Regions from separate parts of the Homo sapiens genome. Here region 2 is linked to region 1. Evidence: promoter capture Hi-C in 16 types of primary human blood cells and fetal thymus (Javierre and others, 2016). All regions are on one chromosome and are shown on one strand. Each heading gives the region's core, a stretch centred on a gene start or on the middle of the fragment in contact. The rest is flanking DNA. Distances are from core to core; before and after follow the strand shown.

The links. The method cuts DNA at HindIII sites, captures the fragments that hold promoters and counts their contacts. A CHiCAGO score of 5 or more calls a contact.
Region 2: a fragment that was not itself captured here is called in contact with the fragment with the promoter of CUBN in region 1 in 11 of 17 cell types (activated CD4 T cells, M1 macrophages, total CD8 T cells and 8 more); the score reaches 15.5 in activated CD4 T cells.

What each region holds. Positions count from the first base shown.
Region 1 is chr10:17,126,998-17,131,750 of GRCh38, forward strand. CUBN (cubilin) reads right to left here and starts at 2,814. Exons shown (of 67, transcript NM_001081.4): 1 at 2,647-2,814; 2 at 2,124-2,253; 3 at 832-927. The coding sequence starts at 2,768. The HindIII fragment of the contact is 5,551 bases long and covers 1-4,753 here.
Region 2 is chr10:16,868,813-16,873,565 of GRCh38, forward strand. CUBN (cubilin) reads right to left here. Exons shown (of 67, transcript NM_001081.4): 59 at 824-1,041. Among named protein-coding and RNA genes, the nearest start is that of RSU1, 54 kb to the left of the region's middle. The HindIII fragment of the contact is 1,153 bases long and covers 1,845-2,997 here.

The sequences.
Region 1 (4,753 bases), core at 1,564-4,063:
TGGGGTTTTTTTAAGTTTTTTTTTAAAGTACAACCCACTGATAAGTTGACCGATTGCTTCTCTGTAGGCAGTGACTATGGAAATGTTCATAAATGTCAGTGATGCATCCACTTCCCCAATAAGAAGATTGCTCTCAGAACTTCAGCAAGGCTTCTTTTCTTTCTTTCTTCCTTTCTTTCTTTCTCTCTCTCTCTTTCTTTCACTCTGTCTTTCTTTCTCTCTCTCTCTCTGTCTCTCTCTCTCTTTCTGTCTCTCTCTCTCTCTTTCTTTTTTTTTTTTTTTTTTTCTGGCAAGGTCCCACTCTGTTGCCTGGGCTGGAGCACAGTGGCATGATCATAGCTCACTGCAGTCTCAACCTCCCTGGCTCAAGCCATCCTCCCACTTCAGCCTCCCAAGTAGCTGTGAGTACAGGCTCATGCCACCATGCCCAGCTATTTTTTTTTTTTTTTTTTTTTTTGGTAGAGACGGAGTCTCACTATGTGGCCCAGGCTGGTCTCAAACTCCTAGGCTCAAGCGACCCTCCCTCTGTGGCCTCCCAAACTGCTGGGATTACAGGCAGTTTTTTATATTAATCATCCATTCACTTGCAGTGAGCCACTGCTCCCAGCCCAAGGCCTACTTCTGCAACAAGTGCTTGCACAGCATTTCCTGCCTTCTGTCCATCACTTCTACAGCCTCCATTACAGCTGTGTCATTTAACCAAACAGTGAGTAGTTACATGCTAAATCTCTAAAGAGCACACAAAGTTGGTATATCCCCTACAAAACGGTTACTTATACAATAGAACTAGGGAGAACTCATCGGTTCTTATGACGTAGATGTCAGACTTACCTTGGAATTAAGCTGATAGATTTGACTAGATATATTTTGAGGCAGACCAATTGCACTCCCTTTTAACTCTATAATATCTTCTTTGTTTTTCTGGATCTAATTTTAGAAAAAGAAGAAGAAATGAAGAGCACTAGTGAAAATATCATATTTATCTTTACAGTAACATAATTAAAAACTTGAGTAGTATTCTACTTTAAGCACTAAGATCTTGCCTATTATTATAAAAACCAAAACAACACCATGCGTAATAAACACTGGGCTAAAATAGCCACAGCATAATTCCACTTATCCTTTTCAGTAACAATAGATCAAGGTATTTTCCATTTGTATGTTTTCCTATAATACCAGTTTAGGGTGCTTATTAAGAAACCTGGCTTGGAAGCAGACTGTTTAGGTTTTAAGTCCTGGCTCAGCTATTTATTGCTGTCCTGGGCAAGTTACCTAACTGCTTCAGGGTTTCTTTACCTCTTGTAAAACTAGGGTGACAATAAAGGCCACCTCATAGGACAGCTGTGAAGGTCAAATGAGATAACATCCATACGGTGCTAAGCACAGTGGATGGCCCACAGTAAGCTCTGAATAATGCTGACTTCTAACATTATGACTGAAATATGCAGTGATTATTGGGAAATGAAAACACCCAGTAAGGCAGGAGAATAACTGGCCAATTCTGTTCTGTGGCAAAAGCAAACTGGTCACATGTCCACATATCCTTGGTCCCCTACTTCCTCGCATCCCCTGTGGAGGAGTTTCAGTTCCACCCTCCGTGCCTTCTCTGGACTAGGGTGCATTGTCTGGCACAATGAGCTTCTATCTTTTAGCATACTCCCTCTACCCACTATTAACCCCAGGCCATCGTCCTTTACAAGAACATGTCTGATGCCCAATTATGTTCTCTATGCTAAAGATTCAAGGTACACTAGGAAGGGGGAGGGAGGCTGAAGACAGGTTGATTAATGAATACAATATATAGTTAGATAGAAGAAATAAGACCTAGTGTTTGATAGACCAGTAGGGTGACTATAGTTAACATTAATCTATTGTACATTTCAAAATAACTAGAAGAGAACAATTCATATGTTCTTAGCATGAAGAAAAGGTAAATATTTAAGGTGATGGATATCCCAATTACCCTGATTTGAACTTTACACATTATAGGAATGTATCAAATTATGTATTAATAAAAAATAATAATTAAAAAAGATTCAAGGTACAGATTAATCTAGACTTGTTCAATTAAGTCACCGTATATGGATATACAAAATGACTTCAATATATTTCCAGTGTATTACCTGATGTAAACACTCACTGAGATCTTCATCATTTAATTTAATTTTTCCCAGGGATCCGGTTCTAAACTCAATGTTTTGAGCAGACCCCGTAAGAAACACCAAATTTCCTCTCTCTGTAGCCATTCGAGGCCTATATAATTCAAACGAGAGAATGCATCAGTAATTAGCAAGTACAATTTTTAAACCAAAATAACAAAGTTTCTTACTGAATAACTACAGGCCAAATACATCTTCACTTTTTGATCATCTCAACCCAACTGCCCCTGCTCATCTGCCACTTTTTTCTCTGCACATTTCTCAGAGATACCTCCTGGCAATTGCAAACAGATTATTTGCAAAATGACAGATAATAATTTGTGCATAGGAAAGTAATTTCATACCTCAGTCTAAATGTTTTTCCCTGTTTGCTTCTCAACATAATTTTCCTCAAGAAAAATTGCACCTTTGTTTATCTGGCTATTTGGGAAAACTGGTGAGGAATTAGCCTAGTCCCTGAGCAGGAATGACCCATGTGTTTACTTACTGTTGGAGATTGATGCTTCTTTTTTGTCTCTGCAGCTCAAGTTCTCCAGCTTCGCCATTTACTTCAGCAAATATTAATAAGGTAAGCAAACTCCAAAGAAAAGGTAAAGACATGTTCATCATCAACCTCCCAGGTTGGCAGGTAAGAGTGAGGCCACTCCAACCAACTGAGCATGGGATTTTGGAGAACAGCAAACCAGGCAGGTGTACTTTGAACCATGGAATATCCTGTAACTGTTGAGTTTTTTCTTCTTTGCCCTAGAAGGCTATGTTATTTTTTCTTCCAGAGGGATGTAAATGATCTTAGATCTTCAGTACTCTTCAACTTGTGAGAGGTCAAAATCTACCTTAAGTGATGCGCAACTTAATCATTATCTATTTGACCTTTGAAACAGTAACAAGCAGCTTTGAAAACATCCACTTAAACAATCTTTGCTTAAGAAGTAACTAGGTTTCAACAAAAGTAAACTGGTCATTATCTACACCTTTCTCTGTTCCCCTCCTTCCTCACCTCCCTTGCAGAGGAGTTCCACCTTTACCCAGCGCTAGGAAAACTAGATATCCACATGCAAAAGAAGTTGGAGGCTTACCTCATACCATATGCAAAAATTAACTCAAAAAAGTTCAAAGATCTAAATCTAAGAGCTAAAACTATAAAATTAACTCACAATGGTTCAAAAAATCTGAAACTATAACATAAAACTCAGAAGAATAGGACAAAAATTCATGACCTTGGATTTTGGATTTGGCAATGATTTCTTGAGTATGATACCAAAAGCATGGGCAAAAAAAGAAAAACACACAGACAACCAAAAGATATAAATTGGAATACATCAAAATTAAAAACGTTTGTGCATCAAAAAATACATCAACAGAGTGAAAAAGCAACTCCCAGAATGGAAGAAAATATTTGCAAATCATATATATATGAAAATGGGTTAATATCCAGAATGTACAAAGAATTTGTACTTTTTACTTTTTATCATCCCTGTGGGACCTATGGACGGCTGTGGAATCCATTCCCACTTTCCACACTGCGCTATACACCCTTCCAGCTGGATATATGGTTTGAGGACATGGAGCACTGATGTCCCCACTCACTCTGTGCTGGGACTACAGAAACCACTGAGAGTGATGAAAATATTCTACATTTCGATTGTAAAATCAACTATTGATGCACTCAGACTTTCCATGAGCACACAGACAAAACTGAATTTGAGGGAGAGCTGTAAAAATTTCACTTCTAAGAAAAATCTCTAGGTAATTACCATTGCATTGGTTAATACCCATGCAGGCTCTTTCAGGACAAGCCTGTTTGTGTTTTACTTATTTTGTGTCTTACTTATGTAGGCTCTTTGAGGAGAGGATCATTATGTACCATAGCTTATAATTCTTTACTTATGCCGGGCGCGGTGGCTCACGCCTGTAATCCCAGCACTTTGGGAGGCCGAGGCGGGCGGATCACGAGGTCAGGAGATCGAGAACATCCTGGCTAACGTGGTGAAACCCCGTCTCTACTACAAATACAAAAAATTAGCCGGGCTTAGTGGCGGGCGCCTGTAGTCCCAGCTACTCGGGAGGCTGAGGCAGGAGAATGGCGTGAACCCGGGAGGCGGAGCTTGCAGTGAGCTGAGATCATGCCACTGCACTCCAGCCTGGGGGACAGAGCGAGATGCCGTCTCAAAAACAAAACAAAACAAAAAAAAACTTTACTTGTGATACTCAAATAGTCACTGCTTTTAAAAATTTTTTTTAAACCTTCCCAATTTCTTCTATATGTCTCTTGTATCTGCTTCTTTCACTCAACATAATGCTTTTGTAATTCATCTGTGCTGTAGTGTATATCATTAATTGGTTCCCTTTTATTATTGAGTAGTATTTCATCATATGGCTATCCCACAGTTTGCTTCTCTACTCATCAGTTGATAAACACTTGAGTTATTTCCAGTTTGGGACTATTATAAATAAAGCTGTTATGAACATTTGTGAACAGGTCTTTGTGTCAACATAGGTATCTCATTACAATTTTAATTTATATTTCCCTAATGACCAAAGATGTTGGGCATCTTTTTATGTATATTTGCCATTTGTTTATCTTCTTCGGTGAA
Region 2 (4,753 bases), core at 1,171-3,670, 260 kb before region 1:
CAGCTTCCAACTAGACAGCTCCATTTAAACAGGTCTTCCAACTTAAAATACTCCAAATTAAATAAAACATTTCTCCCTTAAATCTTAGTCTCCTAAGCCACCATCATCCAACAAATTACCTATAGAAAGTCATCCTCAATTCATGTCCTCATTAAAATATCATCAGAGTCCAAACACTGTGCTTCCAATGTATTCTGCCTTCCGTCTCTCAGATTTCTGCCCTTCCCTTTATCTCTTTCCCCTCTGGGTCCGTTCAAGGCTTTGACACTTCCCATCTAGATTTCTATCATAAGCTTCTTCCTTCCCATGTTGTAGGTTCTTCTAGCCTTCCTCCACTGTGCTACCAAAGTGATTTTTTTTTTTTTTTTTTTGAGACAGAGTCTCATTCTGTCACCCAGGCTAGAGTGCAATGGTATGATTTTGGCCCACTGCAACCTCCATCTCCTGGGTTCAAGCAATTCTCCCACCTCAGCCTCCTGCGTAGCTGGGATTACAGGCACACACCACCATGCCCAGCTAATTTTTGTATTTTTGTAGAGATGGGGTTTCACCATGTTGGCCAGGCTGGTCTTGAACTCCTGACCTCAGGTGATCCACCCGCCTCAACCTCCCAAAGTGCTGGGTACATTTGTTGAGTGATTTTTTTACAACATTAAAATATGTCATACGTAAGTTTTAAAACCAAGCCCTTACATGGCATATTCTTCTAAGCTTCAAGGAAAAGCAATCATAATCAGGTGGGGGTGGGGGGGGGGCGGGGAAATTAAATAAAGCAGAAAGGTAACAGTCCTGACAAATAGATTTACAAGTCCAGAATTCTTACCCAATGTCTGCCGGAAAGACATCTTCCAGCCTTTTGCTGTCTGAAATGAATCTGTCTTGAACACCAGGAGCATACTATTATTGCTGCTCTTCACATTTGGTGGGCGCTTGGAACCGCAGAATTTGCCAAGAAGGGGATCGCTGGTATTGGCACCATCGTAAATTGCCAGGTAGTCATGGGAGCAGGAGGTGGAGGGAACCACATCAAAATCACTGAACCTGTGAAATGTACCTTGTTAATACTGATGTTTCCATTTGGACTTCTATTAAATTGTAGCTTTAGCTCTTGCAAAAAAAATGACAAGGAAAAAACTACCAGTAGAGCATTCAAAACTCACTTGATATGAAATATTAGAAATCAAACAGTACTTTACTGATCAGTTCAAAAGTTTAGCCAAATTTGTTTTTAGTAATTACAATACAACAAAAACTGTGACAGCAGCTGGGGATGTCAAAGTGAGTAAGATACAGTCTTACTTTTCAAGGAATTCACAGTCTAGGGCATATTAAAGTCCATCTGAGAACAACTTTTGACAAGTTGAACTGATATTTACTATCCCAGCAATACTTTAGTTTTTTAGGTCTCATTAAAAATACCATATTTACTCTTCCCTTGTTATTTTATGAGATGAAGTAGAACTTATGGGAAGCATGTTAATATAATAGAAGAAATGCTGCTTTTAGAATCACAGCTCCATTCTCCTCACAGTCTCATTTTCCTCTTTTAAAATGAAGTTTATGTTAAGGTCAGGTGAAGAACAGGAAATTTACATTTAAGACCTCTGTGGTGGTCACTGACACTTCTGCACATGGTCCCAGCTCTCTGCCTCCCCAGCACTGGTAGGATTGCCCTAGGGGCACACTTTGAGGCTTGACATGGCTGCTAGGAGTTGCTTTGACCACAGAAATGTAAGCAGAAGGGATACATATTACTTTACGGAAGAAGCTTTACAAATGACTACTTGCTTTGCCACACTGCCTTCCCACTGCAGTGATGATCATGGAAGCAAATGTAAAAACGAAGCTTCCATCAGCCTGGGTTGTTGGATGACCACGATGAGCAGAGCTTCCATGCCAGGCCACACTGAACATGCTCATTACAATGAGAAATCAACTTGTTGAGTTAAGCTGCTGTGAGGTGGAGTTGTTTGTTACTATGTGCATAACCTATCCTGACAGATGCATCCCTAACTTTTCTCTGTCTTATACAGTGTTTAATTCAGGTCTTATTCTTTGTCATTTCAAATAACGATTTCTAGAGTTCCTGAACAAGCAAGGCTTCTTACATGGATTTACTTTAGAGTTTTGTGGTGGGTTTATTATAGCTTATTTTTAAAACTTGTTTAAAAAAATAATATTTGATATCCTGTCCTCATTTTTATAGGTTCTTCTGCTTTTTCTTTTTTTTTTTGAGACAGAGTCTCACTCTGTTGCACAGGCTGGAGTGCAGTGGCACAATCTCAGCTCACTGCAACCTCTGCCTCCCTGGTTCAAGTGATTCTCTTGCCTCACCCTCCCGAGTAGCTGGGATTACAGGTGTCCACCACCATGCCTGGCTATTTTTTTTAATTACATGTATATTTTTTAGTAGAGATGAGGTTTCTGCCATGTTGGCCAGGCTGGTCTTGAACTTCTGACCTCAGGTGACCTGCCTGCCTCAGCCTCCCTGTGCTGGGATTACAGGCATGGGACACCATGCCCAGCCTGCATTTTCAATTTATTTTGGCAGTAGCTCTAATAAACAATCCATAATATGGAATAATTTTGAAAATATAGACTAAATAATATATATTTATATATAAAATATATAATAAATGCTTCCTTTCAACAGCCTTGAGAAAAAAAATTGTTGGTTTTTTTTCTAAAAGGTTTTGGTTGGTTGAAGGTTTTCAGACTGATGAGGAACAAGATGAAAACCGTATTGATTTTCTTTTACCACATTTAACATTTAATGTTATTGTAAAAGATCAGGGAAGAACAATAGCTAGATAATTTCCAACAACACTGTATTCATTTTAATTCTCTACAGACAACACATTTATTTTTCACAAAAAGAATCCACAAAGAGAGATAAAATCTGAGTTTCTAAGAGGACTTAAATCTGCTTTGGCTTTTTATTTTACATCATTTTCCCAGGAGAGCACAGAAGAGATCTGAAAAGCCCATTGACAGAAAAGCTTGTGTAACCACAATCTTTTGAGAGCCTTTTATTAATGTCTGCATCTTCTACCACACCTAGAATCTTATCTGTTTCCTAGAATGTAGGCTCTTAGTGCGCAATAAATAATTTTCTAAACCTGCAGATGTAGGCTGGGTGTGGTGGCTCACACCTGCAATCCCAGCACTTTGGGAGGCCGAGGCAGGTGGACCACTTGAGGTCAGGGATTCAAGACCAGCCTGGCCAACATGGCAAAACTCCATCTCTACTAAATATATATATATATACAAAAGAAAAAATTACCCAGGCTGGTGGCACACACCTGTAGTCCCAGCTACTCAGGAGGCTAAGGTGGGAGAATCGCTTGAACCCAGCAGGTGGAGGTTGCAGTGAGCTGAGATCACGCCACTGCACTCCAGCCTGGGCGACAGAGTGAGAGCTAGTCTCAAATAAATAAATAAGTAAAATAAAATAAACATGCAGATGTAAATTTCATTATGGTGAGCTCCAGGATCCAGGCTGAAAACTGAAAAAATACATTTAGATTGTATACATACATATATATATAGATAGATAGACAGATAAAGAGAGAGAGAATATATAACATACCTCTATGAGTTGGTATGTATACCATGGTTGGAATGTTTGTGTTCCCCTAAATTCATATGTTCCCTAAGCTAATGGTATAGGAAGTGGGGCCTATGGGAGGTGATTAGGTCATGGGGGAGGACCCCTCACAAATGGGATTAGTGTTTTATAAGAGGCCCTTCCAGCTCATGAAGACACAGCAAGAAGGTACCTTCTATAAGCCAGAAAACAGGAGCTCACCAGACAACGAATCTGCCTCGACCTTGGACTTTTGCAGCCTTTTGTTGTTTATAAGCCACCCAGTTTATGATATTTTGTTAAAGCAACCTGAACAGAACAAGGCAATAATCAATCCTACACATATGAGAAACAAATAGTGAGTCACAGTAGCAAATGGCTCCCCCTTACACTTTCACGCCTGTGCAGGCATACTTCACAGAACTCCTGCTCCTGGCCATCTGACAGTTTCTGTTCTTTTGTCCCCAAGACCTAAAAGACACTCTGTTTTCCTACAAATAGTCCAGGTAAGAGCTGCAGTTTTCTTCGAGGTCCAGCCTATAGAACGCCTGATACAGGAACCAAATCAGGCTTGATGAGAGATGTCTTTCATCAAGACATCTCTTGTTCACTTGGAGAGCCAACTGATACATGAGGCCTCTGGAAGTAAACTGCAGGGAGTACAGAATCTTTAGGGTAGAAAATGATCACAGACAAATAGAGGGGAGGTAGGTAGGTAGGTAGGTAGGTAGGTGTGGTCTTAGCCCATCAGGCTTCTGTATGGAAAGTCCTACATGACCATGAACAATATTACTGTCAGAGTTTCCCACCACATGCCATACGTATATCACTGAAATAGGCTGTCAGGTGAAAACAGTCTTGAACTTTATCATTCTGGAGAGTGGGAGGTTGCATTGCCCTCATCAGTCTTGTTGGGAATAGGTAAGACTGGGAAGAAAATTGACCAGTGACTCAAGCTATCTCTCATAGCATCAGTTTAGAGGTGTTCTGACACAGGTATAAAAATAGATTTCTTAAGTAGTTAGAAAATGTATCCTTTGAGGCTGGGTGCGGTGGCTCATGCCTGTAATCCCAGCACCATGGGAGGCCGAGGCGGGAGGATCACTTGAGGTCAGGAGTTCGAGACCAGCATGACCAACATGGTGAAACCCCGTCGCTACCAGAAAT